Linked DNA regions of Homo sapiens: region 1 is linked to region 2. The links are contacts of gene promoters, found by promoter capture Hi-C in human tissues and cell types (Jung and others, 2019). All regions are on one chromosome and are shown on one strand. The core of a region is centred on a gene start or on the middle of the fragment in contact, and the rest is flanking DNA. Distances in the headings are between cores, read along the strand shown.

Region 1 (2,700 bases), core at 29-2,528, 260 kb after region 2:
ATATCCTCTCCCGTGATGTGATCTTTCCAGCGGCTATTAATAGGTCTCCGGGGAGGGGGAGGCGGCGGGGGGAGCGGGCTGGAGCTTAAAGGGCCCGCAGCCTAGGCTGCAGGAATCCTTGGCTTCAAGCTACACTCCCCATCTGCTTGACACACCGCTCCCCTCCCCCTTTCCTCCTGCTTCTGCCTGCCGGCCTGGCCTGCCAAGCCCCCCTCCTCAGGCCTTCCCCTCCAGCTGTCTGGACCAGTGGGTAGCACTCCCTGGTGTGCGTTTTCCCACTGTCCCTGGGGAATGAGACCCGGGCATGTGCAGTGACCCCAGGTCCTGTGGCCCTTCTCTGCTGGTGTTGGGACATATGGGAGTTGAGGTTTGAGACCTTGGAAGGAGTCTGAAGACAGCAGATCTTAGAAGAGAGGATGCTTAAGTCTGATACAGAGGACAGGGTTGCCACAGAAGCTTGCAGGCTGATGGGTGTTTTGGGGCTGAGGTGGGTGAATTCTGCCAACTCTAGGCCCTGGTTTCCATTCAAATTGTGGAGGCTAGGGGGTGGAGGGTTTCCCCATCTCCACTCCCCAAGGTGGATGAGGGCTTCAGCCCTTGTCTGAGGAAGCCATGGAGGGAGGTAGAGAATAGCTGGTGGTGGTCTTGAGATACCACCCCTTCCCCCCACCCTCCCCCATTGTTAGGGGAGGCAGGATGGGGTAATTAAGTTGCAGGCATGCCTAGCCCCTAGCAAGGTTAACTTTTCACATTTCTCCCACCTCCTCCCAGGTTACCCCACCCCAGGAGGAGAGAAGCTCCAGGGAGCCCGCCGCTGTCCCCCCGCGGTCATTGCCCCCCTGCCCCAGCCAAGCCAATGCACCCAGAAAATAAATTGACCAATCATGGCAAGACAGGGAATGGCGGGGCCCAATCTCAGCACCAGAATGTGAACCAAGGACCCACCTGCAACGTGGGCTCGAAGGGCGTGGGGGCGGGGAACCATGGGGCCAAGGCCAACCAGATCTCGCCTAGCAACTCAAGTCTGAAGAACCCCCAGGCAGGGGTGCCCCCTTTCAGCTCGCTCAAGGGCAAGGTGAAGAGGGACCGGAGTGTGTCTGTGGACTCTGGAGAGCAGCGAGAGGCTGGGACCCCATCCCTGGATTCAGAGGCCAAAGGTACCCCATTTCCTCATCCCTAAGACCCTAGCATCTCCCATAGTCCAAGGCTCAGATGTTCTGGGAGATCACCTCTCTGCTCCCTGCTTGTCCAGTCCTCATCCCACGTTCTTCTCCAGTATTTCTGCATGGGTACCTTTCAACACCCACCAACCAGATCATTCGGGATTGGGGTTGGCCATGATGCCACCCATGGAGGGGCCACACAGAGTGGTCGGACTTCTGGACTCCTTCCCCTCCTGCTTTCCCACCAGAGCTCCAGAAGGGGAGAGGGAGGTGCCATGGAGTGAGGAGCAGACCCCAGACCCACACACTTCCAGGAGCCTCCGTATCCCGGCTGGTGGGAGCCCTTTGGGAGCAGGCACTGGGGCCTGGAAGAGTAGCAGCAGCTCCCCCTCCCCTCCAGCCCTAATTAGAACCAGTTGTGGTTGGGGATTATGCTGTACTTGGTGTTGGGGGGGAGGGGAGACAGGCATGGGGCTATAGAGAGAAATCAGAAACAAATGGTGGCGTGGTGGGGGCCACGGGCTGGCGAAGTGCCCACCATGGCCTGGGCAGTGCCCTCTAGGGTGGGGCATCTTAGAGAATGGATCTGGGAGGGACCCTGGGTGTGGGAGAATAATGGGGCCTCTAGGCACTCACTCTTTCCTCCGTCCTGCCTGGGCAGAGGTGGCGCCGCGGAGTAAGCGGCGCTGTGTGCTGGAGCGGAAGCAGCCGTACAGTGGGGACGAATGGTGCTCTGGACCGGACAGTGAGGAGGACGACAAGCCCATTGGGGCCACCCACAGTGAGTGCCTGTCGATGCCAGGGTGCTGTAGCCCGTGATGTTCCTGGGGGATGGACTTGAGAGGACTGAGCCTGGGAAAGAAGTGAGGACTGGGAGTCCTGGATTTTTCTCTCCCATCCTACCTCTCAGACTCTGTCCCTCCCTACACTGCAACTGCCTCGCCTCTGCCTTCCAGGTGCTCAGTGACCCCCTCTCCCTAGGGACCCTAGGTGGGGCAGAGTGGAGTGGCCTCCTTCTTGGTCACGTCACCTGCACCTCTACCTGTGAATTCCTGGCCTATGCTGCCACCTACTGGTTAGTGGAGGGAGGGCGGTGAAGCGTCCAGGGACACTGGGAGCCGGGCAGTTGGCTCTGCTGTGCAAAGCCCTGCTAAGCCTGGGTGTGAGTTGCCACTTGGCCGTGTCTCTAGTGCCCTTCCCTAACCTCTAATTGACTCCTGGCAAGTACCCAGGGTGTGTCACCAGGACAAGAAGTGGGTGTGGAGGGATGCCCACTCCTCCTCTGATTCTTTTATGGATTCGCCTATATCTTGTCCTTCCATGAGTGATGGGGGAGAGCCAGATGTAACCCCTGCCCCTGGGAAGCTTGTACATATTTTTTTTCCCTCAAAGTTTACGTTTACATCTTTTTGAGGAGAGAGACATAAGAAACTAGCCAGAGAGGCTGGGTGTGGTGGCTGTCACCTGTAATCCCCAGAATTTGGGGAGCTGAAACCGGAGAATTGCTTGAGCCCAGGAGTTCAAGAACAGCCTGGCC
Region 2 (2,700 bases), core at 144-2,643:
TTCTTGCTCTTGCTGTCCTAAATTTGTTCATACACTCTTCCCAGTTTGGAATGACCTTTTTCCTCTGTTAGAGTCCCAACCAATTTTTTTTTTTTTTTTTTTTTTTTTTTTTTTTTTCCTGAGACAGGGTCTCTCGCTCTGTTGCCCAGGCTGGAGTGCAGTAGTACGATCTCAGCTCACAGCAACCTCTACCTCCTGGGCTCAAGCCATCCTCCTGCTTCAGCCTCCTGAGTAGCTAGGACTAAAGTGGTGTGCCACCACACCTGGCTAATTTTTGGCTTTGGTTTTTGTAGAGACGGGGTTTTCACCATTGTTGCCCAGGGTGGTCTCGAACTCCTGGGCTCAAGTGATCCGCCCGCCTTGCCCTCCCAAAGTGCGGGGACTGCAGGCGCGAGCCACCACTCGGGCCCCAACCAATCTTTTAAGATCCTGCTCAAAAGTCTCCGTCCCTGGGAAGTCTTTTCTGAGGCCTCTGAACTCACTTAAATGGAATGTGCCCCTATTTGGCACCTGGTCTCCTCCACTGAGATCGGGGCTTCTTGGGCAGGGTACGCTTAAGGAGAACTGGCTGCATTGGGCCACCTGCCTTAGCAGGGCCAACCAGCGGAGGAGCTGGCTGGGTGCTGGCCCGTCCCAGGGGCTGCGGAAGGGTTAAGAGAGGGCTCCAGAAGCCTGAGAAAGCCTAGGTTCCGGTTTAACCTCGGATCTAGGGCCACTGAGTCAAGACGGGACTTGCGGGGCCGAGGGCAGTTCTCCGGTGATCACCCAGGTCTCCAGGGCAATGAGAAAAGGAGGGGGCACTGCAGGAAACGTACAGGGGCGGTGTTCCTACAGGTCCAGAGCTCCTCCACCAAACTGGGTCCCAAACAGCTCTCCTACTTTCGGGTGGCCTCGGGAACGCAGGGGGAGACTTGCCAGAACGCCCGCCATTCAGCGCCCAGCTCCGTCCCTCTCGTTCTCGGCCGGGATCTCCCCGCGGCCCTTGCACAGCCTCCTCCCCCGGCCCGCCCTGCCCCCCGCTCAGCGCGGCCTCCCAGCCAGGGCGCAGGGGTTATCAAGCCCGCTAGGCCTTTACCCGCGGCTGCCCAGTTCCGGGAGCCGTCGGCCGCGGCCCAGAGGGGTCGGCTGGGCGGACGCCGGCGTCTCCCGCTAGCTCCCAGAGTCCCCGGCTCCTCGGCGTGGCGCTTCCTGCCCACCTCCGCCCGCCTGCGCGGCCCTGGCACCTGGCAGCGGGCGCGAAAGAGGACGAGCCCAGGCACTCGGGCCTGCGGGGTCCTGGGACGAGGGGGTCAGCGAGAGGGGCCCGGTGCTCCGGAGCAGGCGCAGGGCTGGAACCCCGGCGCCACCCGTCCCGCCATCGTCCCCCCTCCCTGCCTCCATCCCCGCGGGCACTGCCGCTAGTACTGCCCTCTGCAGGTTCCCAAGCGCCAGTGACACCCAGTGACCTCACTAACCACCTCCCAGGCTGGGCTGCTTGTTAGGCCCATTTTACAGATGAAGAAACTGATGCTCAGAAGGGTGAAATGACTTGTGCAGGTTGATTCAGTTAGGAAGTGGATGAGCCAGAACAACATCCCGGGCCTGAGTCTTCCTACCTTACCCCTGGGCCTCCCTGAGGCGCGGTGTCCAGGGGATTCTTCCCTCTGTCCCTCTCCGCCTCCCCAGCCTACCTTCAGGCAGAGACCTGAGCCTAAGGCTTCCTTGGGTTCTGCCTTATGTATCCGGTCCTCTTCAGAGCCCAGACCTATGTGTGTGGCTGCTGGTAACCTTGGTTAAGAAAGAAGGAAGAATGGGGGCTGAAGGACAACTTGCACCCCAACCTGCTCTTCGGGTCTGACACCCATTCATGGCCTAGCCCTGGGGCTTCCCAGTTCCCAAAGCCCCCACCCTTATCCCTACACTTCCACACACTTCCACACCCTGGGCTCACGTAGCCCAGAAGGAGGAGCCACCCACCACCCACAGCCAGGGCACGCCTTCGTATGCAAGCATGAGTGTACGATGTTCACACAACAGAGCTGTGCACTAGGGCACCCACAGAGAGGCTCTCCAGGGCAGGGCTGGGAAGAGGACTTACTGAAAACAATGTGGATGTTTCATTTAGACATTTGTTCATTCGTTGTACTGTGGTATTGGGTAGCACTGAGCACCTCACCCCCACAAGCCAGGTCCAGCACTAGGCCCTGGGCTGCCAACCACAGCAAGGCAGGCACCTCACTTTAATGGAATCAACTACCACATTTACAAATGATGTACTTCAAGGCCGAGGCAGGAGGATCACTTGAGACCAGGAGTTTGAGACCAGCCTGGGTGACATAGTGAGACCCTGTCTCTATTTAAAATGAAAATAGAAAATAAAAATATAAAAAACAGACAAACAAATGATGTACTTCAGTGGCAGAGGCAAGGCATTAGGAGAGTCTGGAAAAGGGAGTGCAGAGGAGGTAACATTTGTACTGGATCTGAAAAAATAAATCAGAGGACCAGCCGCGGTGGCTCACACCTGTAATCTCAGCACTTTGGAAGGCTGGGGGTGAGGGCAGATCTCCTGAGGCCAGGAGTTTGGGACCAGCTCAAACTCGTCACCATGGCCAACATGGTGAAACCCCCGTCTCTACTAAAAATAACAAAAATTGGCCAGGCATGGTGGCTCATGCCTGTAATCCTAGCACTTTGGGAGGCCAAGGCAGGCGGATTGCC

What was found. Contacts are between HindIII fragments. The study calls those that stand out against the background at their distance.
Region 1: a contact is called between a fragment that was not itself captured here and the fragment with the promoter of NLRX1 in region 2, in 1 of the 25 tissues and cell types used here (liver).

What each region holds. Positions count from the first base shown.
Region 1 is chr11:118,906,727-118,909,426 of GRCh38, reverse strand. BCL9L (BCL9 like) reads left to right here. Exons shown (of 10, transcript NM_001378213.1): 4 at 772-1,157; 5 at 1,825-1,944. Among named protein-coding and RNA genes, the nearest start is that of MIR4492, 2.6 kb to the left of the region's middle. RefSeq lists enhancers at 1-166, 1,895-1,964. The HindIII fragment of the contact is 6,400 bases long and covers 1-2,700 here.
Region 2 is chr11:119,167,418-119,170,117 of GRCh38, reverse strand. NLRX1 (NLR family member X1) reads right to left here and starts at 1,393. Exons shown (of 10, transcript NM_001282144.2): 1 at 816-1,393. RefSeq lists enhancers at 1-597, 598-1,303 and a silencer at 875-1,484. The HindIII fragment of the contact is 23,273 bases long and covers 1-2,700 here.